Linked DNA regions of Homo sapiens: all the other regions are linked to region 1. Evidence: promoter capture Hi-C in 16 types of primary human blood cells and fetal thymus (Javierre and others, 2016). All regions are on one chromosome and are shown on one strand. The core of a region is centred on a gene start or on the middle of the fragment in contact, and the rest is flanking DNA. Distances in the headings are between cores, read along the strand shown.

Region 1 (5,651 bases), core at 3,033-5,532:
ATCAATTATTTTTATTTCACTTCTTCATACATGCAAACTATATCAACACTCTCTACCTTCAGCTTATTGCAAAGGATAACCTGAAAAGAAAAGGAACTATGATTGCCATATCTTTCCCTTTCCTTCCGTGTCTTTGAGTGTAAGTGGTTGACATTTACAGGGAAAGAACACAAGTAAAAAACTATGTGGGCTGGGCACGGCGGCTCACGCCTGTAATCCCAGCACTTTGGGAACAGAGGCGGGCAGATCACGAGGTCAGGAGATCAAGACCATCCTGGCCAATATGGTGAAACTCCGTCTCTACTAAAATACAAAAAAATTAGCCGGGCATGGTGGCGGGTGCCTGTAGTCCCAGCTATTCGTGAGGCTGAGGCAGGGGAATCGCTTGAACCCAGGAGGCGGAGGTTGCAGTGAGCCGAGATCGCGCCACTGCACTCCAGACGGGCAATAGAGCAACACTCTATCTCAAAAAAAAAAAAAAAAAAAAAAAAAAGGATGTGACAGCCTGTAATCCCAGAGCTTTGTGAGGCCAAGGCTGGAGGATTGCTTGAGGCCAGGAGCTCAAGACCAGCCTGGGAAACACAGCAAGACCCTGTCTCATAAAATTTAAGAAATTAGGTCCGGGCACGGTGACTCACGTCTGTAATCCCAGCACTTGGGAGGCTGAGGTGGACGGATAACCTGAGGCCAGGAGCTTGAGACCAGCCTGGCCAACATGGTGAAACCCAGTCTCTACAAAAAATACAAAAAAGTTAGCCGGGAGTGGTGGCGGATGCCTATAATCCCAGGTACTTGGGAGGCTGAGGCAGGAGAATTGCTTGAACCCGGGAGGCGGAGGTTGCAGTGAGCTGAGACCTGCGCCATTGCACTCTAGTTTGGACAAGAGGGAAACTCCATCTCGGAAAAAAAAAATTAGTTGGGCATGGTGGCATGCATTTGTAGTCTTAGCTACTAAGGATGCTAAGATGGGGTGAGCCCTTAAGCCCAGGAGTTTGCAGAGAGCTATGATTGCACCACTGCCCTCCAACCTGGGCAACAGAACAAGACCCTATTAAGAAAAAAAAAAGGATGTGAAAAGATTCCTTGGTCATTCATGTTTCTTAAAACGTCATTGCTTTCCTTCTGCATTCAAAGTAAGTTCTCCTCGGTAAGGAAAGCTAGGCCTCTTGGGGCTGTCTGTGCCTTCTCTTCTCTTCCCTTTACTAAGTCACAAGTGTGACATGCTTATCTTTTACTAGCTTTGAGTCTAGCTTAACTCCCAAACATTGCAGGTCTAACAGAATTCTGAGCTCATGGGGCATGCTAAATGCTTAAATGCAAATGATTGGCAGGAAACAGTGGACATCCACATTGTGCATACCTCTTCTATTCATGTTCATGTTCCATTGTACTTTCAGACTTCACTTACAAAACACATGTTCAAAGGCAAAATTACTAAGTATTTCAAAATGGTGACAGCTGAGCATTAAACCAAGTGCAGAGTCCTTCGGAGTCCAGGGCTCTGTGCAATAGCATAGGTTGCACACCTTTTAAGTCAGCTCTTATTTGAGTTCTAGATAATCCAGTTTTGCCAACACTTGATATTATCAATCTCTTAATTTTAATCATTTGGTGGGTGCTTAGAGATATCTAATTTTGGCATTTATTTACATTTCTCTGATCAACTTTTCATATATTAGCCACTTGGCTGTGTGTGTGTGTGTGTGTTAGGTTCCTGTTTCAGTCTTTTTTCCTTCTTTTTTTTTGTTTTTGAGGTGGAGTTTCGCTCTTGTTGCCCAAGCCAGAGTGCAATGGCGCGATCTTGGTTCACCACAACCTCCACCTCCCAGGCTCAAGCAATTCTCCTGCCTCAGCCTCCCGAGTAGCTGGGATTACAGGCATGTACCACCATGCCTGGCTAATTTTGTATTTTTAGTAGAGACGGGATTTCTCCACGTTGAGGCTGGTCTCGAACTCCTGACCTCAGGTGATCCACCCGCCTCAGCTTCCCAAAGTGCTGGGATTACAGGCATGAGCCACTGCGCCCGCCTCCAGTCTTTTGTCTATTTTTCTATTGACTGTCTTTTTTTGGTCTGGATTTGTAACAATTGTTTTTATATTCTGAAAAGGAGCCTTAGGTAGGTTATATGTATAGCAGATATCTTCCCCTACTCTATGGCTTCCTTTTCACTCTCTTATGGTATATTTTGATTACTAGAAATTCCTAATTTTAATATAATTTAATTTGGCAATCTTTTCATTTGAAGTTAAGTGCTATTTTGTATCTGGTTTCAGAAATCTTTGCCTTCCTCCAAATCATATTCTCCTGTATCATTTTCTTTAAGTTTTATTGTTTTTGCCTTTCACATTTATATCCACAATCTATCTGGAATTTATTTTTTTTTGTAACTGGTAAGAGGTAAAGGATCAAACTTTGCTGATGCTGTTTTTAGTCAATACAAAGGTGGGTTCCCAATTTAGCTCCAGTTTGTCCTCTATAATAAATTCCATTATTACGGCGGGGCAGAGAAAGAGGGGATGGCTTCGGGTTAGGATGGGAGAGAAAACGGATTACATTCCCAGTGTCATCTGAAGTAAAACTTTTCTCAGATTTTTCTCAGCAAGCTTTTTAAGTCCTCTCACCTGGAGAGTGACTAAAGAGATAGAGGCCATATCCCATTCACCTATCCATTCAACAAACTAAACTAAAACGAGGGGCCGGACACAGTGGCTAACGCCTGTGATCTCAGCACTTTGGGAGGTCGAGGTAGGGGGATCACTTGAGCCCAAGTTCGAGACCAGCATGGGCAACATGGCGAAATTCCGTCACTACAAAAAATACAAAAAATTACCCGGGGGTGGTCACCTGACCTCAGGAGGTCAAGGCTGCTGTGAGCCGAGATAGAGCCACCGCACTCCAGCCTGGGTGACAGACTGAGACTCTATCTCAAAACAAACCAACAAAAACAAATTAAAATGATATGCTTGTAAAATGTTTGTAAAATCATAAAAGATAAAGTGTTTTTTTGTTTTGTTTTGTTTTTCTTGTCATTGTGGAAGTGACGTTAGTTCTTTTGGCAAAGGCTTCTGAGAACATCAAGTTTAAGGATTTAGTTTAGAATAGACTGTTCCACAACTGTTCTGAATTCCACTTGCTAAGTGTTCGGGTGTTGTGGTTAAGGTGAGGACTGGGCAATGTGGGTAGATCAGAGTAAACTCATCAAAACAATTCCAAGGGACCCTAGGATGACACTACTCTGGGTATGTCTACACCTCTTTATATTGGAATGACAACAATATCATGAATATTCACTCTAATCCATTGTATTTGCCACCATCATCTCTCTCTTACAGTAATACAACTTTATCCCCTTTTCTCTGCCTTTGGTAATGGCCCTCTTCAATGTATTCTACTTCTGGCCTAGGATGATCTGGCCTTTGTTTATCTATCCAGCCTCATTCTTTGCCACCTGTCCCCTACACCAGCTGAGCTTCACCGTCTCCCTCTTTGCAGACGTTGGTCCCTTGAGGCCCAGCCTACATCACTGCTCTTTCTCTGGTTGGCTCCTACTTGCCTTTCAGGATTAAATATTACTTCATTCAGAAAGCCTGGTTTATAGAAAGTGCTCAATAAATGTAGGTATTATTATTATTTTAAAATAATAGAAGTAAAAATGCATCCTCGGTGTGATTATTGAAAAAGTGGATGAATGAGATGGGTATTTGTTGAGTGGATGGGTGACTGGGACATGGGTTCTATCACTTTAGCAACTCTCCAAGGTGAAAGGACTTAAAGTGTGTTCAGGCTGGGCGCGGTGGCTCACGCCTGTAATCTCAGCACTTTGGGAGGCCGAGGCGGGCGGATCACGAGGTCAGCAGATCGAGACCATCCTGGCTAACATGGTGAAACCTCGTCTCTGCTAAAAATATAAAAAAATTAGCCTGGCGTGGTGGCAGGCGCCTGTAATCTCAGCTATTCGGGAGGCTGAGGCAGGAGAACCGCTTGAACCCGGGAGGCGGAGGTTGCGGTGAGCCGAGATCGTGCCATTGCACTCCAGCCTGGGCAACAAGAGTGAAACTCCATCTCAAAAAAAAAAAAAAAAGTGTGTTGAGAAAAGTTTCACTTCAGATGACGCCGGGAATGTAAACCGTTTTCTCTTCCATTCTAACTCGGAGCCATCCCCGCTTTCTCCGCCCAGCTGGAATTTTTGAAGCGAGAAAATCGACTCGCTCGGTGTTCGCCCGCCGACGCCGCACGGCTTGCTGGGGCTGGGCTCTTCCTCGCGGAAGTGGGGAGGAGGCGGTTGCGGTTAGTGGACCGGGACCGGTAGGGGTGCTGTTGCCATCATGGCTGACCCCGACCCCCGGTACCCTCGCTCCTCGATCGAGGACGACTTCAACTATGGCAGCAGCGTGGCCTCCGCCACCGTGCACATCCGAATGGGTACGTTGTCCCCTCTCCAGTGCCTCCCAGCCGCTTGTCTGCACTGCTCGGCCTCTAGAAGCCGACTTCCGGCTTCCGAGGGAGAGCGGCCATCTCCTGGGACTCACAGGGAGTGCTCACTGAGCTCCCGGCCCTCCTTCTCCGGGTACCAGAGGACTGGCGCCCTCCTCAGGGAGTCGGGGAGGCGCTTCCTCCCCTCCTAGCGGGTGTGGGAGGGCGCCAGGCCCAGAAGGCTTGCGGCTGTCCTGTGTGCGCCCCGGCTCCCCAGCGGGCGCCGCGGTGTAGGAAGGGACAGATGGAAACCGCCGCAGCCTGAATTTGGCATCTTGAAGTGAAAAGAAACGTCGTGGAAATGAGTCGGTTGATCACTGTGACTGACGTACACACGAGTGGAATCCACGGCCTGATGTTTTTGTTCTGTGGGGTTTCGCGTTACAGGCTTATATTTACCGTCCTGTGCTAGGCTGGAAGCTCCCTGACGGCACTATTTCCTCTCCGCAGGGCCCAGAATGCAACAGGTCTTTGAGGATTATTGAGGAAGTTGCTCAACACAGAAGCTTCCTAAGTCAGTCTAAATTGTGTTTTAAGTTATTACGTAGTAGCCAATGGGCAGAAATTTTTGAATTTAAAATGCTCAGCTTCATCTACGTGGAAGCCATTGCCTGCTCTAGTTTGGTCATTTGATCGCCGAAACAGCCCCAGACTTTCAGCCTGTTTAGGCAGCTGGAACTTGTTCTGGAAAAGGAAAGATGAAGATAGTTCTGATGTGCTAAGAATCTTAGTGCCTAGAACTTGTTCTGGAAAAGGAAAGATGAAGATAGTTCTGATGCACCAAGAATCTTGGTGCCTAGCATTTATATTTTTGGAATTGAATTTTGAAATTATTTTGGCCAGTGAACTCAGCTTTTTTTTAAAAAAAATTAATTGTGGTAAAATACAGGTAACATAAAATTTACCGTCTTAACTATTTTTAAGTGTATAGTTCAGTAGTGTTAAGTTATTCACATGGTTGTGCACTGTTAAAAGAAAAACTTTAGACACATTAAATCTAACGGAGTTTGAGCACAGAATGATTTGCGAATTGGGCAGGTCCCGGAACCAGAATAAGGTTCAGAGTGATGAGTCCTGCCGCTTGGTGGGAGAAAATTTATGGAGAGAGAAAGTAAAGTGAGGTACAGAAAATAGAAGTGAGGTACAGAAAGAGTTGATTGGTTACAGCTTGGTTTTT
Region 2 (5,294 bases), core at 934-3,433, 1.4 Mb after region 1:
GGACGACCAGAGGTCACTTTCATCACCATCTTGGTTTTGGTGGGTTTTAGTCGGCTTCTTTACTGCTACCTGTTTCATCAGTAAGGTCTTTATGACATGCATCTTGTATCTTGTATCTTTATGACCTCCTATCTCATCCTGTGACTTAGAATGCATAACCATCTGGGAATGCAGCATAGCAGGCCTCAGGCTTATTTTACTCAGCCCCTTTTCAAGATGGAGTTGCTCTGGTTCAATCGCCTCTGACAGCAGCATCCTGAACAAAGTGGGCAACTAATTACACAATTTCTGGCCTCAAATAGTTTATAATCTAACCTTGAAAAAAATAGAAAAGAAACAATTTTACAATTTGGGGCTTCGATACAGATGAAATAGGTTATTTTTTTGTGCAAGAAAGTCTTCCTGGAAGTCTTGAAACCTGAATACAGAAGGATTAGTTATTCTAACCAGCTTGAAAAATTGGCCTAGGCCAAGGCTGTAACCAAGTATTCTGGTTGTCTAGGAACTGCTCTGACCACACTTCCGGCATAATTGTTTCTTGCAGAAAAACTACTTCAGTTTTTTTAAAGCTTCTTTTGCCTTCTGTAGGCTTACTTAAAAAAAAAAAGTATTAAGATCCTTTTGTGGTTCATAAGCCTGATGATTGGGTTTTCATGCTATTGTGTGAGTTACCACCCCTACCTCAAACCTTGTTAGGACTCCGCGCATTACCCCTCTGTGTGAAAAAAACAAAGTAATAAAGGTAATTTTTTTTTTTTTGCATAAGCCCTATCCTTGTACACATCAGGTTTCAACGTGTTTCCATCATTATTTTTACCTTATAGTATAGTGTTTTCACGAGTTTTTTTTTTTAATACTTTAAGTTCTGGAATAGTTTTCACGAGTTTTAAGAGACTCTTCTTGGCAAACAGTTCAACTCAGAGAAAATACTTTTACCAGCAAGGAGGTATACCTTGTTATATCGGTCTGGGGATGTGACTTGACAGTTCACCTTGCCAGGAATATCTCTGTGATTTTTTGTTTGTTTGTTTGTTTTGAGACAAGAGTCTCGCTCTGTCCCTGAGGCCAGAGTGCAGTGGCTCACTGCAAGCTCCGCCTCCCGGGTTCAAGCGATTCTCATGCCTCAGCCTCCCGAGTAGCTGGGATTACAGGCGCCTGCCACCACGCCCAGCTAATTTTTGTATTTTAGTAGAGACGGGGTTTCCCCACGTTGGCCAGGCTGGTCTAAAACTCCTGACCTCAGGTGATCCACCCGCCTCCCAAAGTGCTGGGATTACAAGCGTGAGCCACCGCGCCCACGGTGGGCGGTGAGAGGAGAGGGGCAAAGTCTAATTATTCCAGAGCGACCACAGAAATATCTGGAGCTAGTTTCAAGGGCTATTCCCCGCTAAAGATTACTTAATAATGCAGTTGGATGACCACGTTTCAAGATTTTTGTTCGATCTGCACATCCTCCAACATGTTCCAAGAGGGTGTTTAAAAAGTCACCAAGGACCATTAGGATAACCATTAGGATAAAGCTGTCAGGACATCCCTAAATTGTTTGAAACTACGATGTCTGCTGAGGAAAGAAGAACATAATTAGGCTTTGGAGTTAAGAGAGCTAACCAGTTCCGAATTTAATGTCTGAGCCAAATGAGAATGTTAAGATTTATCTCACAAGTTGTAGAGAAAATTAAAAACGATTAAACATCCGGGCCTTGAATAAGTGCCCGTCGACTTGGGGATTAAATATGGTAGAGTCCACTTTCCTCACCAGCTGATGATAATTTCTGTTATGTACAGTCCTCCTTTCTCTTCCTTTATCGGTTGGTTAGTATTTGCCAACTCTTTCCTGCTTTTCATCTTCTCTTCCCCCCATTTAAATCTTTCCACCAAGCGCTCAGAAACACGTACGTCCTACCAGAACGCAACCCGAGCCTGCGCGAGAGGTACGTACAGGTCTTGACCTTTTCCCGGTTCTCCGCCCTTTTCCCGGTTCTCCGCCCTTTTCTCCGGTTCTCCGCCCTTTTCTCCGGTTCTCCGCCCTTTTCTCCGGTTCTCCGCCCCTTTTCCGCCACTGCCTGATGCCTCCCTCCAGGCTGCGCCAGTCCGCAGCCCCGCCCACGCCGGCCGTCACGTGACCGCGCAGCGTGCTCCGCCCCCTGTCCCTGGCTCACGTGATCGCGCCTAGGGAGAAAACGTCTGACTCCAGCCACCGGCCTTCAAGGCACGGCTTTTTATTCCTTCGGCTGGTCGGCCTCTCGCCCTTCAGCTACCTGTGCGTCCCTCCGTCCCGTCCCGTCCCGGGGTCACCCCGGAGCCTGTCCGCTATGCGGCTCCTGCCTCTAGCCCCAGGTCGGCTCCGGCGGGGCAGCCCCCGCCACCTGCCCTCCTGCAGCCCAGCGCTGCTACTGCTGGTGCTGGGCGGCTGCCTGGGGGTCTTCGGGGTGGCTGCGGGAACCCGGAGGCCCAACGTGGTGCTGCTCCTCACGGACGACCAGGACGAAGTGCTCGGCGGCATGGTAACTCTTCTGTTTCTGCCCCGCCCCTCTATCTCTTGGGCTGACTACCCGGTTTGTTGCTCTCTTTCCCGGTCCCCACCACCCTCCTCCCCGAACTGGCTGTCTTATCCTTGGGTAGGTTTGGTTTTCCCACCTGAGGCCCTTTATGCCGGTGTAAGGGACTGCAATACTCTTTTCCTTTCTGGATTGAGGCACATGCGTACAGCACACAGAGCTTCTAGTCTGGACCGTACTGCTGTGGAGTTTACGTTAATATCTCAAGATAAACATGTGGAGACCAGTGGAGGATGGGTTGAACCAATGAGGATCAGGTGCTGTCTAAGAGCACTCAAGGCCTGATTGTTTTTCTTTTGGATTAGAGGATCACAGACAAGTCCAGTCCCCTTTATGAGGGACCTAGACCACCTCCACGTTTGTGCCTGTATACAATGTCTGTATCTGATGTCAATAAAAATAAGCCTGGGCCGGGCGCGGTGTGTCACTCATGTAATCCCAGCACTTTGGGAGGCCGAGGCGGGCGGATCAGAAGGTCAAGAGATCGAGACCATCCTGGCCAACATGGTGAAACCCCGTCTCTACTAGAAATACAATAATTCTAGCTGGGCGTGGTGGCGCGCAGCTGTAGTCCCAGCTACTTGGGAGGCTGAGGAAGGAGAATCGCTTGAACCCGGGAGGCAGCAGTTGCAGTGAGCCGAGATCGCGCCACTGCATTCCAGCCTGGCGACAGAGCGAGACTCCGTCTCCAAAAAAAAAAAAAAAAAAAAAAAAAAAAAAAGGCCTGAAGTGAACTAATCTGGTAGGCCGACCGTCGAACTATTGAGGGTGTGTGTTGCCTCACAAGAATCAAGAAAATTCAATTAGTGTGATTGAACACCTGACTGTTGCATTAGAGACTGTCAGTGTTTCATTTTCTATCTAATGGGTGTTGTCACAAGACTTCATTTTTTTTCCAGAGTAAATTTTGCTTGTGTATTGCAGAATTATGGAATGTGTGACCTTTGGAAACATCCACTCCAACCCCTTCCCCATGGAGGCCCAGAAAGCAACTTGCCCAAGACATGAGTAGTTGAGGCAGAGTCCTCTGACCCTGGGTTCAGCATTCCTCTCTTCGCTTTAAAACCAAATGCTTTATTGCTTTCTTCGTTTCAGTTCTCTTTTTGCTTTCAGCTGAATGCTGAGACTATGAAATACTCCAGGCAAGACGTTCCTAACTTTTCTTGTGTAGTTACACACCCTAGCTCAGTGTCCTTCAAACCTCTGGTCCCAACCCTTGAGTGAGTTATGAAATCAGTTTAGTGAGTAACTACCAACATTTTTTATTTCCTCTGGAATAGAATAGAATAGAAAAGGTCCATGTGTGTGAGTGTGTGTGTTACACTTGATAAAGGTAATCATTATCTATCTCTCTTTCTTCCCGAGTTGTAAAATATATTTCTTAGGTTGATGCTCAAGAGCTTGAGAGTCTTTTATAGCTGATGTTTTAAGAGGCTTGCATTTTGACTACACATTTCTTCCTGCCATATATGCTTCATTGTCTGTTAGTTTCTACCAAGCCATGTTGACATTGGTCTTAATTTAATTTTCCTCCTACACTTTAGGTTCACTACTCTTCCAACTACTGCACTTACTTGTCTGCTCACAAAATTCCTTTTTTATTAAAAAAAAGAAAATGTGTCCTTGAAGAGTGTTTTGTCCAGAAAAAGCAAGCCTTCTCTAGCAGTGACTTAAGTACTCAGTTAAAAGGTCAGGCTTTTTTAGGTGTTGAAAACAAAATTGATTACTTAAATATAAGGTATTCAGAGTTGTTTCTTCAATTCTTATAAACCACAGCTGTAGTCTGTGTGTATTTGAGGTCTCTTTAGTATGTTAATCCAATTTGCTTCGTTAAGCCAGTAGCAGATTTTTTGAGTCAGGGTCTTGCTCTGTCATCCAGGCTGGAGTGCAGTGGTACAATCAAGGCTCATTGCAGCCTTGAACTCCTAGTCTCAAGCAGTCCTCCTGCCTCAGTCTCCCTAGTAGCTGGAACTACAGGCACATGTCACTACGTCCAGCTAATTTTTAAATATTTTGTAAAGACAGGATTTCTCCATGTTGCCCAAGTCGGTCTTGAACTCCTGGACTCAAGTAACTCTTGAACTCCTGAACTCTTGAACTCCTGGACCTCAGCCTCCCAAAGTGCTGGGATTACAGGCATGAGCCACTGTCTCGGCCCAGATTCTTTTTTTTAATAAGTGTTTCTACTGGAGAGAGGTACCAAAATTGAGTGGAGGGCATAAGTCAAACTTAATGTTCCAAACTCAAGAATTCTGGCTTCTCTTCTAGGCTTTTTCAGAATATTCTACCACTAATTGTCAAACAGGACTCCAAGGGGAAGAGCTAGGACAAGAGCATTTGAGAACTTACTTGGAGCCGAGCAGAGTATGAGGATTTTTATACTTGTGCTTCAGTCATCACAGGAGTCCTCTGCTGTACATAGTATCCTTATCTTAAAAGGAAACTAAAACTGGAAGGTGGTTAAGTGACATGACTAAGTTCATATAGCTAATATTGGACAAAGCCTGGGTATCTTATGACCTCAGATCACCATGCTTTTTCTCCTATTCTAGAATACTGTGATAATAATCAGATTTCATTCCACATACCCACACCAGCATAATCACACCATAGGTCAGAGAGTCTGCAGGTGACATTCGGGGATGCCAGTGACATCATGGAACTCCTTAATTTACATGTAAAACTTTGTGTATAATATCTTCATTTTTGTGGAAAGAGCTCTAACCTAAAAAAGAT
Region 3 (4,956 bases), core at 2,425-4,924, 1.1 Mb before region 1:
AAAATTCTAATGGCCAGAGGGAACAAACTGGGTTAGGAAGAGGCCTGAGACAGCAAGATTAATTTGAGAAATACTCATCAGGAGACTAAAGAAGACAGACGGGAGAAGGGTGATATCAAAGATTTTCTGCTTGTGACTTTCAGTGGATGGTAATTTAACAGGCCAAAATAAGGATAAAGAAGGCATTAAGACGGGAAAAGAAAAAGATAAATGTTTACGTTTCAGACTTCAATGGAATTCCCAGGTTGATATGACCTGTAGGCAGTGCCATCTCATTCCTTTATTCAACAAGTATTTTGAGGGCACCAACATAAGGAACTCTACTCTGCAAACACAGTGATGAGTAACACAGTCTGGAACTTACACTAGGTATGCACTAGATCGATAGATACCTTGCACTCACAATAACTCTCACCACAGCCTCTCCCATCATACATAAACACAATTTTACTCTTGCTTCCAACCAGAAATCTAGTTGATATGGTCAATTTTATCACTCAGTACACCAATTACCTTTCAGAGATCCTGCACATACACCACTGCTATTTCACTTTTCCTCAGTTATTCCTTAGAGTGCTATGAATTAAGTTGGAACAGTTTTTTTTTTTTTCTTTTTGAGACAGTCTCCCTCTGTCACCCAGGCCACAGTGCAGTGGTGCAATCTCTGCTCACGCAACCTCTGCCTCGCAGGTTCAAGCAATTCTGCTGCCTCAGCCTCGCGAGTAGCTGGGATTACAGGTATGCACCACCATGCCCGGCTAATTTTTGTATTTTTAGTAGAGATGGGGTTTCACCATGTTGTCCAGGCTGGTCATGAACTCCTGACCTCAGATGATCTGCCTGCCTTGGCCTCCCAAAGTGCTGGAATTACAGTCGTGAGCCACCACACAAGACCTAAATTGGAATAGTCTTAATATTGTTCATGTAAAGAAATCTAATTTTTACTAATCTTTCTTCCCAGTTTTCTCTGTGAGGTCCCTTCCTCCTCTTTCTCAGTGGTGAGCCCTAATCACTGCTGATAACCAGTTAGCATAGTATATATCAAGAAAAAAACATCAAAGTAAAATCAAGAAAGTTACTGCCATCAACCTTCTAAGTATTTTTAAAAGTGCCCAGAAATCACCTTCTTAATCTCTGCAAATCTATTTCTTCTGATTAAACCTGCTTTTCTCCAAGCACAAGTACTTAAGATAATTTCACTATTTCCTGTTATGTTATTGTAAATGCCCACCCACACTGTACTTTCAGCTATATGATAGGATCTCTAAGGTTCCTTCCAGCTCTGAAAACCTGATTCCTTAAAAGGCTTGAGTTTTTTTTACAAGCATTTTAAACAGTTTCCAAAAGAAAATACCGTCCAATATCCAAAACACTTAAATAAATAAATCTGGTAATATAAACCTTTATCAAATTGGGAAAAACTTGCATTCCAAAATGGGGTGAATTATTTTAAGAAGATTCTATCAAGTGGTATTTAAACAAACAGTTTAGTTGATTTTACAATGGTTTTCTGGAGGTTCCTAAAATCCCTATATAATGGAAATAAAACCCAATTCTACTTAAACAAGCACCTACTGAGAACCCACATGGCCCAGAGCCAGACAAAGAGAACGATTCCGTTTAGTAAGACAAGGTCCCTATTCTTAAGGAGTTCTGTGGACAATATCCATCCAGCTACAGTCAGGTTATCTATTCCCTCTTCCCCAGTGAAGTTTTGTATCGTGTGCTTTACATTTTCACTTTCTATCTAGAGTTTCATTTTCAACACCTGGCTCAAATCTCTCCATGGACATGAATCTTCTTGCTTTAATATTCTCTGCCACTTAATGCCTGACAATTACATATTGCCCTGGGTTATTCATCTTTTTACAATAGTGTCTTAACTATTCAACAAGCATGTAGATTTAGGGAAAGTAAGCACCAGATCTTAAACTTTTTGTAGTCCTCAGGAATTATTAAAAGCATCTTCTAGCATGAAATATTCTATAAGCCTAATTTTAGAGGGAAATGAAATTTAAGGCCTGAATCTTAACATCCACTAGTCTAAACCCTGGAGAAGTGACATAGCTGGGTGGTCAAGAGTTCATGTTCTGGGGGTAAAGAGATCCTATAAGTCCCAGACCTACTATCTAACTGACCTTAAACAAGTACTTAATCTCTCCAAATCTCAGTTTCTTCAACTGTAAACGAGATTATTATTATCCTCTTTTACTAAAGTTGTAAGGATAAACAAAAATCAAGCTCACAGTAAGCATTAATATTAACTATTATATATAGAAAGATAATGATATTTTCTTTAGCTCTTGATTCCTTGGAATATTTTAAATCAACTGGTGGTTGAAGAATATGAAAATAAAAGAAGTGGCTGGGCACAGTGGCTCAAGCCTGTAATCCCAGCACTTTGGGAGGCCAAGGTGGGCAGATTGCCGGAAATCAAGAGTTTGAGACCAGCCTGGGAAACATGGTGATACCCATCTCTATAAAAAAAATTAGCTGAGTGTGGTGGTGCGCACCTGTAGTCCCAGCTACTCTGGGGGCTGAGGTGGGAAGAAAATCGCTTGAGCCCAGGAGGTTGAAGCTGCAGTGAGTTGAGGTGGTGCCACTGCACTCCAGCGTGGGTGACAGAGCGAGACCCTATCTCTAAAAAAAAAAAAAAAAAAGAAAAGAACTTAGTTACCTCAACCTACCAAATATTCAATATTAATATTCACAAATGGAGTGTCACATGGTTCATCCACATTAAAGCTTTCACTCTGGTATCAACCGAATCCCCTATCTATTGGCTACATTATAAGGTTTACTCTTTATTCCTTTATGGAACATGCATCCCTAGAGGTCCTTAAAATAACTATATACACTGGTACAAATGTTTTCTGGCAAAAAGTCTCAGTACACTCCAGAAGTGTTTCTTTTAGGGAGGAAGTGATGAGAAGCACTGTTCTAAGGTACTGTCCCAAGGAATGTTTCTTCATTTTTCTTCTGAAGGTTTTATTTGAATTGGCATTCATTAATAACTTTTCACTAAACCGAGGCTAGTAAGTAACAGGCACTATCCTAGTAATTAAGACACACAAATGCCTCCTCCTTTTTTTAATAAAAGAGCTCCTAGTCTCCTTTTTTTAAAACAAACAAACAAAAAACCCTGCATGGGTGGATGCGGTGCTGGCCTGTAATCCCAGCACTCTGGGAGGCCCAGGCGGGTGGATCACGAGGTTAGAAGATCGAGACCATGCTGGCGAACATGGTGAAACCCCGTCTTGACTAAAATACAAAAAATTAGCCAGGCGTGGTGGTGTGTGCCTGTAATCCCAGCTACTTGGGAGGCTGAGGCAAGGGAGTTGCTTGAACCTGGGAGGCGGAGGTTGAAGTGAGCTGAGATGGCGCCCCTGCACTACAGCCTGGCGACAGAAAAGACTCCATCTCAAAAAAACAAACAAAAAAAACCAAAACAACAACAACAACAAAAACCCTGCATATGGCAGAGTTCCTAATCTCAGCATTTCTCATCCTAATGCTTCCCCATTTCTCCTAAGTCTTAATATCTCATTTTTAAATAATGCACAATACTAAAACACAAAAGAAATATTACAATTTTTCAATAAATTGAGCCTTAATAGTCCTACAAAAAGATTCTTTTAAAATGCAGAAATTTCCAAATTTTTAAGCCTGCATTCATTTCTTTACCTTCTCTGTATTAATGAACTATGTAATTATATAAATAGACCTGAAATTTTATGCCTATAACAACCTTTTGTAATTAGTCATGTCCATGCCTCTCAGAAGTGAAAATGTAATCTCAAATTAAATAGCTTGCATAAGATCTTACAGTTCATAACAAAGAATCACACATGATTAGAACCCAGATCTTGTGACTAGGTCAAATTCTCTTTGGATTCTACCATGAGGATAATAAAATTTGCTCTTCATTTTGGCAGCATTTGTTTCTTCTCTCGTCCTTAGTACAGGCAGAGTGCTTTGCACATGTTGGTCATTCCATAATGTTAACCTTGCCCTCAAGATCCTTCTAGTGCTAGGTATTTTTAAAATATGTAGCCACAAATCTTGGTATTTAAGCCAAAATAAATAAACTTCTAATGAGAACAAGGCATCATTTTTTTAAAAAAGAGCAAATTAAAATAAATGCCTATACTAAAAATATGCAGAAAAAATTTCAAAATTCTTGACTCCAAACGCTCACTAATTAATTATTAAATGTCTGTTTAAACTAAACATATAAAGTGCTTTAGTTCCAAAGACTTGTTTATTAACTAGATGGCTACAGCGCATTATAAAAATGTTTTTTAGAAGACAGTTGATAAAAATATCTTAATGATGCCAAATTACTGGAAATCACGTACTGCTCCTAAATATACCTTGTTTAGCATTCACCAACTATTAGGAATATATCAATATTACACTAATCCTCCAGGAATTGTTTTGATTCAGTACAACCAAAATTCATACATAATCTTTACCAAATTCAGCAGTGACTGTCATTTAGTATCAGAGCACTATTTCTTTCATGTAATTTATTTAAGAAAAAAACAACTAGGTATGTACATGTTATCTTTCTTTCACAGGAAATTTAAGAAAGCAAGCTTCAGTCAATAATCACATGTATGGTATCACCACATAATTTCTTTAGCCTTTCTAAACTTATACAGGAGAATGACTAGTTGAACAAAATTGTATTATTATAAAGTGCTACCTTCAGACTGAAATTGACCACAATCAGAATGAAATTTACCACCTTTACAGGATGAGCCAAACTGACAGCAATGGGGAGGAAATCACGCCACACACCTCATCCATTACTTGAATTGGAAGCAAGCAAAGCCCCAAAAATCAAACGGCATTCCAATCCGTAAAACAACACAAAACCTTTATTTCCCCCAAGAATCTTAATTTTGGCCCTAGAACTACACAAATCTAAAACACACAAAACAAACATGTCAC
Region 4 (5,080 bases), core at 2,227-4,726, 1.4 Mb after region 1:
GAGTATCCCAAATACCTGATGCTCCCTCAGCCTCTGTGCCCTTATCTCTGCATGGAATGTCTGCCACCCCTCCTACCCCTGTCCACAGGGCACATTTCTATCAGGCTTTTGTTTTGTTTTGTTTTGTTTGAGAGGGAGTCTCACTCTGTAGCCCAGGCTGGAGTGTAATGACGCGATCTCAGCTCACTGCAGCCTCCGCCTCCAGGGTTCAAGCAATTCTCCTGCCTCAGCCTCCCAAGTAGCTGAGATTACAGGCACCTGCCACTACGCCCAGCTAATTTTTTGTATTTTTAGTAGAGACAGGGTTTCACCATGTTGGCCAGGCTGGTCTGGAACTCCTGACCTCGTCATTTGCCCACCTCAGCCTCCCAAAGTGCTGGGATTACAGGCATGAGCCACTGCGCCCGGCCTCTATCAGCCTTTTCTAATCGCACTTCCCCATGTTCCCTAGTGCTTTGAAGATTAGGGTGGTTCCCACCTTTGCTCCTATTGCCCTTTGTACACACAAGGCTGACCATCAGATATAACATGTATCCCCAAGACACATTTACGTATCACATTCTCAATGGAAACACACAGAGGAAGAGCACTCTTCTTGCATGTTATTGGAGAAGAGGAAGCAATCCTTTCCCGAAGAGTTAAAAAATTATATTATCCCTAACAGTGATTATTCAACACCTGCTCCTCAAATAACCCATCTCATCAATTTCTTTTATAAGTGAAAAGCCCAGCAACCTTCATAATTGCCTTACACAGGCTAGGATGCAAATGCTGATGGCAAAGGCAACCTCTGAACCTCCCACAGTGGGAATTATTGCAGTAGTAGTAAATACTACAGCCAGACAGTTTTCTAAACATTTTACATACTTTAACTCACTTAATTCACATAACCATCCTATGAAGTGAAAGTACCATCATTCCCATTTTACTGATGAGAAAACTGAAACACAGAGGGGTCGGGGAACTTGCATGAGACTGTAGAACTAGTAAGTGGCAAAACTGGGATCTGAGCCCAGGGGACATGGCTCCAGAGTCCATGTTCTCAACCAATGTGCCCCCCTCCCATCCCATCAGCTCTCCAGAGGCACATCGTCAGAAGCCCAGGCTTCTCTCACCTTTCTCCATCCCTGCTCTTAAGAAAGGTGCCTGATCCCAGCACTTTGGGAGGCCGAGGCGGGCAGGTCACGAGGTCAAGAGGTCAAGACCATCCTGGCTAACAAGGTGAAACCCCGTCTCTACTAAAAAATACAAAAAATTAGCTGGGCATGGTGGTGGGTGCCTGTAGTCCCAGCTACTCGGGAGGCTGAGCCAGGAGAGTGGCGTGAACCAGGGAGGCGGAGCTTGCAGTGAGCCAAGATCGTGCCACTGTACTCTAGCCTGGGTGACAGAGCGAGACTCCGTCTCAACAAAAAAAAAAAAAAAAAAAAAAGGTGCCTGAAGCCAGACCAGCCTGGCAGATGCTGAGGCCCAGTCTGTACCCTGAAGAAGTGGTCCCAAGGAAAGAGAACCAAGAAGAGAAGAGGATCTGCATACACAGAGAACACTCTGAGCTCCCATTCCATCTTTCTACCACTCATCCCCAGAATAACTCTGTTGCATAATTGAGCAAACGTCAAGGTTTTTAAATTTTACAATAGGAGGTCTTTCAGGTAGTCTAATACCACTCAAACGAGTCCTTGTCTTGAGAATATCAAATCAGCCTTGACTTGCCTGAAATTCTCCTATGTCAGCAACACCTTCTCCTAAGCATTTTCCTCCAATTTCATAAAAATACATAATTCTATCCTGAAACAGTGTAAGACTCATTGGAATGTCAAGCTGAAACCTGGTACAGTGAAAACCACCATTTGTTAGCTGATTATATTGGAAAGATGGATTCAGAATACTTCAAAATGTCAGCACATGATGTGTAAAAATGGCAGTTGTCAAAAAATCTATTTCAATATACCACAACCTCCATTAGAACTATTATACTGTAATTTTTTATTTGCTTCTCTGACTTTATTCTTCTGAAAGCTCACTGAGGATACTGTATATTTTTCTTCTTCTTTGCATGTTAGCACCCAGCAGGTACTCAACACAGAACTTTTGAATTTATAAACAATTACATATATACATGTACACATTTAACATTTCAAAGTACTTTCAATTCTGTCTTCAAAACATAGTTCTAAGAGGTAAGTAGGGCCAATACTATTGTCCATTTTACAGATGAAAAAGCAGAGGCACAGAAAACCAGAATGATGGCTGAAGAGAGGTGTAGAGATGACTTTAATGTTTGGTTTCAGATTAAGGATAAAATGACATGCTTCTATACTGGTTGAAATCATCCAGCAGAGATGGAAAACCTGATGAAGGAAGAGAGACAAGAAGAAGGATGATTCCTTGAGTAGGGAAGACAAGATGGATCCAGGGTACCCCAGAAGAGCTGAACAGTTCATCTCGAGGTTCAGAGGAATGCCACCTATACAGGTGGGAGTATGAGGACATTCGCTTTTGATTGCTTACATTTTCTCTGTTAAAATACACAGCAAAAATCACCAGCTGAGAGCGAGGGGAGAAAATAGGATGTAAAAAGGGAAAGAGAGAGAGAGTATGAACAGACTAAAGAAATATCATAGGATTGCTGGTTGTACCAAGGGTGTCTGTGAGGCTGGTGGTCACATATTTAAAGAGAGTCGTCCCCATGATATGTGTTTCTGCAGCTGCAGTTAGCTAGGTAGATGCAGAGACAGAATGTGCAGAGACTTGAGTTTAATCAGGCTTGGGGTTTTGCAAGGTGAAAATGACAAAGAGTGGAATAAATAAGTTAAATATGTACACAAGTGAGTCATTATGCTGATGACCATAAACTCTAAGCAGAGTTAGTAAGAAACCAAGCACTGGATGTTTATTGATCACTGCTAGGTCAAATATGTTGTGCAAGGTGACACAACAGGAAGAAAAGAGATTCAAAGGAGCTTGTCTTCAGGAAGCTGTCACTATTAGGAAACAGTCCAACAGTTCCCAAACTTTTCTGCACATTAGAATAGCCCAGGGAGCTTAAAAATCACAATGTTTAGATCACACTCCATGCCAGTAAAAGCAGAATGTCTGGGCTGGGGAGCCAGGCATTAATAGCCTTTTTAAATTTTTCAAGTGATTCCAATATGCAGCAAAGCTTAAGAACACTGGAATAGTCTTTTTTTTTTTTTTTTTTTTTTTTTGCAGAGGAGAATGATACTTGAAGATATATGTGAAATTCCTAAAAGTAAGCATTCAGTATAAGTCATATTATCATCTTATATTTTGCTGTTGACATAGGAAAAATGCAGTTGATTGTCCTACCAAATTAAAGAGTCAATTCTTTTGGGGGAAAAAGTATTTCTTTTAGGCTTGTATTTACACTTCGTATAAAAGAACTTCAAATCGTGAGGTCTTAATCTTGATATATTGCTTGTTACCATATTCCCAGCACCTACAATCATGTGTGGGAAATAGTAAACACAGAATATCTGTTAAATGAATAACGCTTTTGAAAGATATAGTCTCTAAAAAATGGTTTAATGTAAATGCCTCTTTTTAAACTATAAATTGCAAAATATCCCCACTTCTAGAAGTATTCTCTCATAATATAACTAAACACAAAAATGGTCACAATACATATACATGGTAGTTCCAACAAAAGTTCCCTTTATTTCTTTCATATGGTGTCTATCTGATGTTGTATCATTTTTAGTCTTAAAGGCTGTCTTACCCTTGTGGCAATACAGAGAACATAAATAGTATAATACTTCTCTCACGTAAGCTTAAGGGAAGGAGCTCCCCCTGCTGGCTGTATATATAGTTTTCTCTTGCCATAACTGACAAGAGAAAACAAACAAAAAACTCCTGAGTCACTAACCAGCTGAGTGAGTTTCAGCAAAGTTCAACTTTTCCAAGTTTCCCTTTGCTCAACCAAAGGTTGTGGGTAAATGGAGATCATTTTTTAAAAATTTCTAGTAGCTCCCAATTACCGTGACTAAGATTCAGTTTTCCTACAAATCAACCCCTTTATAACGAGGTCATAAGAAACACAAGTAAATTATGACAAAATGAAAAAAAAAAAAAAACTCTTAACTTTAAGATGCTAAAGAGCTTAAAGAAAATGAGGAGAAACTGTTGCTAAAATATGCTGTATGCAAGCTCAATCAGTTTCTTTCATCTAGTCATATTCTAAGTTATTTCAGGGTAGACCAGGCTGCTAATTATATATCAAAAACATACCTAAAACGGTTATCAATATTAACAAATTTGTAATTAAATTCACAATTTTGCAGGCAAATTCCAAATTTAAGGCAAATCTACCCTAATCTAAATGATAACTTATTTTTGTCTCTCAAAAGAAATGAGTTTATGAAAAAGGAAAAAGCACATCTGGGTAAGACGGAAGATTGAAAAAAAAAAGCATCTAACTTTGGTCCCCACCAAAACCACACTAAAAATATTGTAAAGATAATTTTTAAATCATAACCCGCAAGGACCAGAGTGAAGGACAAAAAAAAAAAAAAAGGAGCGTGGAGAACAGCAATGAATTTTTGAAGCTGGAAAAGCAAACAAACATAAATTGACAGAGGATCCTAGAAAGCCAAATCCCAAACTAACAGGAAAGCTGAAATCCAACTTATGTTATACTACACAGTCCACAAGAGACTTGGGGATTGGCAACCAGTTCCCCAGGAGGCTTGACAAGAAATATGGGGAGAAGGCTGTTGAGAAGTAGTTGGATCCCTCGTTCCTCTCTTCATAAGGTTGGGCAATTACCACTTTCCCACCCCTGCAAAAGTTTAAGAGTCTTATTTTTGAAGAGAGTGATAACAGAGTCCTTGGACAACCAGCTGAGGGTGAGTACCTTACCTAAAACAGGGACTCAGTGGCCATATGCATACTGAATGCAGAGACTCCCAGCTCTCTTCACCCCACTCGGCTCCCAAAATACCAGCAGCCAGACCTTCACCCTTCGAGCAGGAGATCAGAAGACTCTTCCTTGAAGAATCTGACCAGCCCAGATGAAAGACTTGAAGATACTGACCTGAGGGGTTCCACAACAAAGGGCCCATCC
Region 5 (5,420 bases), core at 2,090-4,589, 1.9 Mb after region 1:
CAACATGGATAAACCTGGAGGATGTTACATTAAGTGAAATAAGCCAGACACAGAAAGACTAATATTCTATGACCTCACTTATATGGCGAATCTAAAAAAGTTGAACTCATAGAAGCAGAGAGTAGAATCATGATTGCCAGGGTCTTGGGGGTGGGGAAAATGGGGAGATGTTTATTGCACATTTATCAGCAATTAAAATGTTTCTTTTGGGAGCTAACCTATGAGAATGCAAAGGCATAAGCATGATATAATGGACTTTGGGGACTCGCAGGGAAGGTTGGGAGAGGGGTGAGAGATAACAGACCACACACTGGGTATAGTGTACACTGCTCAGGTGATAGGTGCACCAAAACTCTCAGAAATCAGTACTACAGAGCTTATTCCTATAGAAACCACCTGTACCCCCAAAACCATTGAAATAAAATTAAACAGTTTCTTTTGCTAGTTTGGTAGATGAAACATAGAATATAGTTTATTTTGCATTTCTTTGATTACTAGTGAGGTTGAGCATTAAAAAAGAATTACTTGAGTTTTATATTTCTTTTGGGACTTATATATTCATGTCCTTTTATTCTTGTTGGTTAGTAAGAGATCTTGATATGTTAAGTACATTAAACCTTTGTCTGACATACATTACAGATATCTTTTTCCCAGGATGTCATTTTTTTTTAATTATTATACTTTAAGTTTCGGGATACATGGGGCAGGTTTGTTACATAGGTATACATGTGCCATGGTGGTTTGCTGCACCCATCAACCCGTCATCTACATTAGGTATTTTATACAGTCAAATCAATCTCATCCTTTTTAAGTTCTTCCAATTCTTTTATATTTAGAAGGTCCTTCTCTATCTTTAGATCAATTAGTCACTTGTATTTTTTCTGGTTTCTGGTTTTGTGTTTTACACTTTTTTTTTCTTCAGGAAACAAGGTGACAGTCTATTTTCCCATGGTTAAGCATATTTCCTTCACTACTAATTGAGTATGTTTCTTCCCCACTAATTTATAATGTCACCTTCATTACCTAAGGAATTCTTATATTATGTGGGTATGTTTATGAGTTTTATAATCTCTTTTATTGTCTATTGGTTTTGGTGATAGTACCACACTTTTTTTTGATTACCTCTATTTATTCATCAAGAATCATCACACTCTCCTCCAGGAAGCCTCCTTAATTCTTCCAAAATGGTATGATTGCTCCCTTCACTCTCTGTCTTTCACCTTTGTCATGTTTAAAAATCTGCCTTGGCCAGGCGCGGTGGCTCACGCCTGCAATCCCAGTACTTTGGGAGGCTGAGGCGGGAGGATCACCTGAGGTCGGGAGTTCCAGACCTGCCTGACCAACATGCAGAAACCCCGTCTCTGCTAAAAATACAAAATTAGCAGGGCGTGGTGGCACATGCCTGTAATCCTAGCTACTCTGGAGGCTGGCCTTAGGCAGGAAAATCACTTGAATCCGGCAGGTGGAGGTTGCAGTGAGCTGAGATGGCTCCACTGCACTCCAGCCTGGGCAACAAGACCAAAACTCTGTCTCAAAAAAAAAAAAAAAAAAAAAATCTTCCTTGAAGCTGGGCGCAGTGGCTCATGCCTGTAATCCCAGCACTTTGGGAGTCCGAGGCGGGCAGACCATTTGAAGTCAGGATTTTAAGACCAGCCTGGCCAACATGGTGTAAACCCCAATTCTGTTAAAAATACGAAAATTAGCCAGGTGTGGTGGCACTGGCCTGTAATCCCAGCTACTCCAGAGGCTGAGGCAGGAGAATCACTAAAGCCTGGAAAGCGGAGGTTGCGGTGAGCCGAGGTCATGCCACTGCACTCCAGCCTGGGGAAAACTCCAGCCTGGGGGAAAGAGTGAGACCCTGTCCAAAAACAAAACAAAATAAAACAACCAAAAAAAAAAAAAACTGCCTTGTATCATTGTTAACAGGGTTGATCTTATCCAATTACATTCTTGAGTATAGGGAACAGGTGCACAATACCTATTCATTAAAATTAGATTAGTGGGATTTCCTTTAAAAGGTAGTGATGATGGCAGAACAGCTCTAGTTTGAGAAAAAACGAAAATAGGCAATTCTCTCATTTGTTCAACAAACATGGCTGCGCCGTCCAATATGAAAAGATTATAACTGTAAGTGAACCCTACTGTACCCTAGGGATCTCACCACTTGGGGAAAGAGATATGTAAATATATGCGATTAAATAGTGTGACTAAGAAGCATAAAATAAGTATGCACAAAGAAGAAAGGAAAAAACTATTGAGTAGTGGGTAGTGTTTCAAAGTAGTGGACATACAAGTATGAGCCGGGTTCATGGGGTTTCTTAAATGCCAAAGGAACTTGTAATTATTCTAAATGACAACGTGCACAATTTACATTAATGTATTCTTCATTCTGGCCAGGGGTGGTGGCTCACACCTGTAATCCCAAAACTTTGGGAGGCTGAGGTGGGAAGATTGCTTGAGCCAGGAGTTTGAGACCAGCCTGGCTAACATGGTGAAACCCTGTTTCTATTAAAAATACGAAAATTAGCCAGGTGTGGTGGCGCTGGCCTGTAATCCCAGCTACTAGGGAGGTTGAGGCAGGAAAATCGTTTGAACTCGGGAGGTGGAGGCTGCAGTGGGCCGAGATCTCACCACTGCACTCCAGTCTGGGCGACAGAGCGAGACTCCGTCTCAAAAAAAAAGAAAAAAAAAAGATAACTTTTTAAGGAAGGTTAATGCAGTTTGGGCCAGGGGCTCTACTTATTAGTTGCAGGGCTAACACAGACCCGGGAGAACTAGAACGGGATACAGGTGAGAGTTAACCGGTGGTGTGTGATGTGATGAAAACTAGGCAATGGGAAGGAGATCAACCTTTACCCGTCAGTCTTCTAATCTCAGCAAATCACTTCCATGAGTTGGTGTAGAAGGTGTCAGGGCTGACTAGGGTCCCTGCTGTGAGTGTGGGCACAACTCCAGGCACTTCCCCATCTCCCAGCCGGCCCAGCGAGGTGCCTGGAGAGCCCAGGCCAGATGTTCTGGCCAGGGCTGACGTCACGTTTGCATGACGTCACCAGCGCTGACGAACCACACAGAGAGGGGCCTGTCAGCTCACCTCAGAGCGCAGGCAACTTCTTAGAGCGGGGAACTGGCCGCCTCCTATTCTACCTTGACGGTCCGAATAGTCAGAGCTACAGGAGCCGAAGCGCCGAAGGAGCTCAGCAACCGCTACCTCCCTCTTTCCTTGGCCCTTATCCGCGTCTTCTCTAAGGCCCAGGAGCGGTCCCGGCAGCGGCGCGCTCACGAGTCCGCCGGTGGAGGCGGTCACGCGCACGCACGCTTGTGCGCAAGCCCGTTCCCTCAGAACCCGGAAGTGCGAGGCCGAGGAGAGCCACGTGGGTCGAGCTGGGGCGCAGCTCGCATGGGGGAGTCTATCCCGCTGGCCGCCCCGGTCCCGGTGGAACAGGCGGTGCTGGAGACGTTCTTCTCTCACCTGGGTATCTTCTCTTACGACAAGGCTAAGGACAATGTGGAGAAGGAACGAGAGGCCAACAAGAGCGCGGGGGGCAGCTGGCTGTCGCTGCTGGCGGCCTTGGCGCACCTGGCCGCGGCCGAGAAGGTCTATCACAGCCTCACCTACCTGGGGCAGAAACTAGGTACCTCCGCCCCGCCCCCCGAGCCCCTTGAGGAGGAAGTAAAGGGGGTATATTCCCCAGTCGGCAGTGGCTTGGGTTTCCCGTCTCTGTGTCACTTCTAGTCGCAGGCTCGACTCGGCATTCCCAGATCTCCTCCCACCGTTCCTTTCCTTCCCTGGGCTTCCACAAGCCCCGCCCACCGGCCTGCGCTGCTGATAGATTGGCGAACTGGGTAGATGCTCTTTGCAGGGCTGTGACCCAAACCGAAGGGTTTGCCCTTTTGCCTCGTGCATGGATTGATGCCATAAATGAGAAGTTAACCAAACTATGTCTTCATTGTTTTAATTAGTGACGCTGCAGCCAGAAGAGCAAAACTTTGCAAAACAACCTAGTTCTATTACTGAACACTGTTGTGTGGCCTCTTAAGGTTAAGGCCCGAGAGTCACATTTAGAGTCCTACCCCGTCTTCATAGTCCCCCAATACATATTTAATGACTAAAGTAATAAATGAATATTGGGCAGGAAAGGCAAGAAATATGCCTAACACTAGCAAGAAGAGACTTAAGGGGAAAATGGTAAACACTCTTAGCACTTCATGTACATCTTGCCTCTGAAATAAGATTCAAGAGCTGATTCAACTGATTTTTACTAGTAGAAGCAATAAGTATAAGTAGATGAGAAGGAAATAATAGATGTAAAAGGCATGGAATATGCATACAAAATAATATTACTGCTTAATTATGACAAATAAATATATTTGAATCCTAGGGGTTTCAGAGTCAGTACTTTGACCTGTTTTAGACTCTTCAATTTTCAGAAGCGTGAGGTCTGATGTGAATGAAGGACACGTATATAAAATACAGAGAATAGAAATGTAAAATTGGTGTAGATTTCATTTTGATCCACCCCCCCCCGTTCCCTAACCAGCCCCCTACTTTCCTTATATTGCCTGAAGGTGACCATGTACATCTTATTGAGCTTTCAGTAAACACTCAAGAGACAGGGCTTCCTGAGTTCGTAATTGCTGTAGCAAGTATGTTGATTTATACATACTTATTTAGTATGCTAATTTATTAGCAAAAACTGGTCAGATAGTTTCACCTTATTTTTTTCCTCCCCTTTTTACAATGGCATTTCTCACAAATTTGCAGTTGCTGCTATGGTGTTATTATTCCCCTTTCTATAGATTAGCAAATTATATATGCAGTTATGTTGGGTAGATGATAGAGTCGAAACCAAAATATCTGCCCTTGTACTCTCAGATTGAGTTTGCATTCATATAACTTATTAAAAATGTGTATGAAAATTATAATTTATGTATAATATATACAGATATATGTTTTTTATATATGTGAAAATGGGGTGGATTCTAGCTGTAATACTGAAGGTAGGTAATATTTAGGCAGTTTCAGTTGTTTTTAGACTCCCCCACCTCAAAGAATGGTGACTGATTCAAGTGCCATGATTCTTTGCTTTTTTTTTTTATTAACTTATCCATGGAAATTTGATGAAAGCTGTGTACTTACTCTCCAGAAAAATATATATGTACATATAATTTTGCGTATAACCTGAGTGGGTTCAGTTGAATTTTCTAAAGTCTATTTATTGACTCCATTTAAAAAAATCTGCTACTCTAGTTTTAAGTTGAATGAGCCAGGTTTTTACGTAAACAGAACTGGCTGCCCTGTGTGTAAGAATGTGTGTATAAGATCTTCACTGTCTCTGACTTGGGTTCTGTAAAGTGGTCCTCAATGTGTAAATTGATTAGTTCTGCTTGAACCCCAGCTGGCATGGGTGAGCATGAGGACT

Evidence for each region. Contacts are between HindIII fragments. The CHiCAGO score rates a contact against its expected background, and 5 or more counts as called.
Region 2: the fragment with the promoter of GNS here is called in contact with the fragment with the promoter of TMBIM4 in region 1 in 4 of 17 cell types (non-activated CD4 T cells, M0 macrophages, naive CD8 T cells and 1 more); the score reaches 6.3 in non-activated CD4 T cells.
Region 3: a fragment that was not itself captured here is called in contact with the fragment with the promoter of TMBIM4 in region 1 in 1 of 17 cell types (fetal thymus); the score reaches 6.8 in fetal thymus.
Region 4: a contact is called between a fragment that was not itself captured here and the fragment with the promoter of TMBIM4 in region 1, in 1 of 17 cell types (monocytes). The highest score is 5.4, in monocytes.
Region 5: a contact is called between the fragment with the promoter of KICS2 here and the fragment with the promoter of TMBIM4 in region 1, in 2 of 17 cell types (activated CD4 T cells and total CD4 T cells). The highest score is 6.2, in activated CD4 T cells.

The regions. Positions count from the first base shown.
Region 1 is chr12:66,168,627-66,174,277 of GRCh38, reverse strand. TMBIM4 (transmembrane BAX inhibitor motif containing 4) reads left to right here and starts at 4,282. Exons shown (of 7, transcript NM_016056.4): 1 at 4,282-4,423. The coding sequence starts at 4,327. RefSeq lists a silencer at 1,102-1,302 and enhancers at 4,301-4,380, 4,024-4,548, 5,031-5,130. The HindIII fragment of the contact is 2,376 bases long and covers 2,607-4,982 here.
Region 2 is chr12:64,756,295-64,761,588 of GRCh38, reverse strand. GNS (glucosamine (N-acetyl)-6-sulfatase) reads left to right here and starts at 2,183. Exons shown (of 14, transcript NM_002076.4): 1 at 2,183-2,504. The coding sequence starts at 2,313. LOC124903113 (small nucleolar RNA U13) reads left to right here and starts at 616; the gene lies at 616-721. It also overlaps a transcript of TBC1D30 not described here. RefSeq lists an enhancer at 2,757-3,637. The HindIII fragment of the contact is 13,978 bases long and covers 572-5,294 here.
Region 3 is chr12:67,271,184-67,276,139 of GRCh38, reverse strand. The region is part of intron 1 of CAND1 (cullin associated and neddylation dissociated 1); the gene reads right to left. Among named protein-coding and RNA genes, the nearest start is that of CAND1, 4.3 kb to the right of the region's middle. The HindIII fragment of the contact is 1,853 bases long and covers 2,748-4,600 here.
Region 4 is chr12:64,795,155-64,800,234 of GRCh38, reverse strand. It overlaps a transcript of TBC1D30 not described here. Among named protein-coding and RNA genes, the nearest start is that of TBC1D30, 27 kb to the left of the region's middle. The HindIII fragment of the contact is 627 bases long and covers 3,163-3,789 here.
Region 5 is chr12:64,220,215-64,225,634 of GRCh38, reverse strand. It overlaps KICS2 (KICSTOR subunit 2), which reads left to right and starts at 3,339. Exons shown (of 3, transcript NM_152440.5): 1 at 3,339-3,632. The coding sequence starts at 3,398. LOC124902952 (a long non-coding RNA gene) reads right to left here and starts at 3,286. Exons shown (of 2, transcript XR_007063347.1): 1 at 3,092-3,286. RefSeq lists enhancers at 2,886-2,945, 3,026-3,215, 3,366-3,455, 2,937-3,531, 3,566-3,625 and 1 more. The HindIII fragment of the contact is 7,597 bases long and covers 1-5,420 here.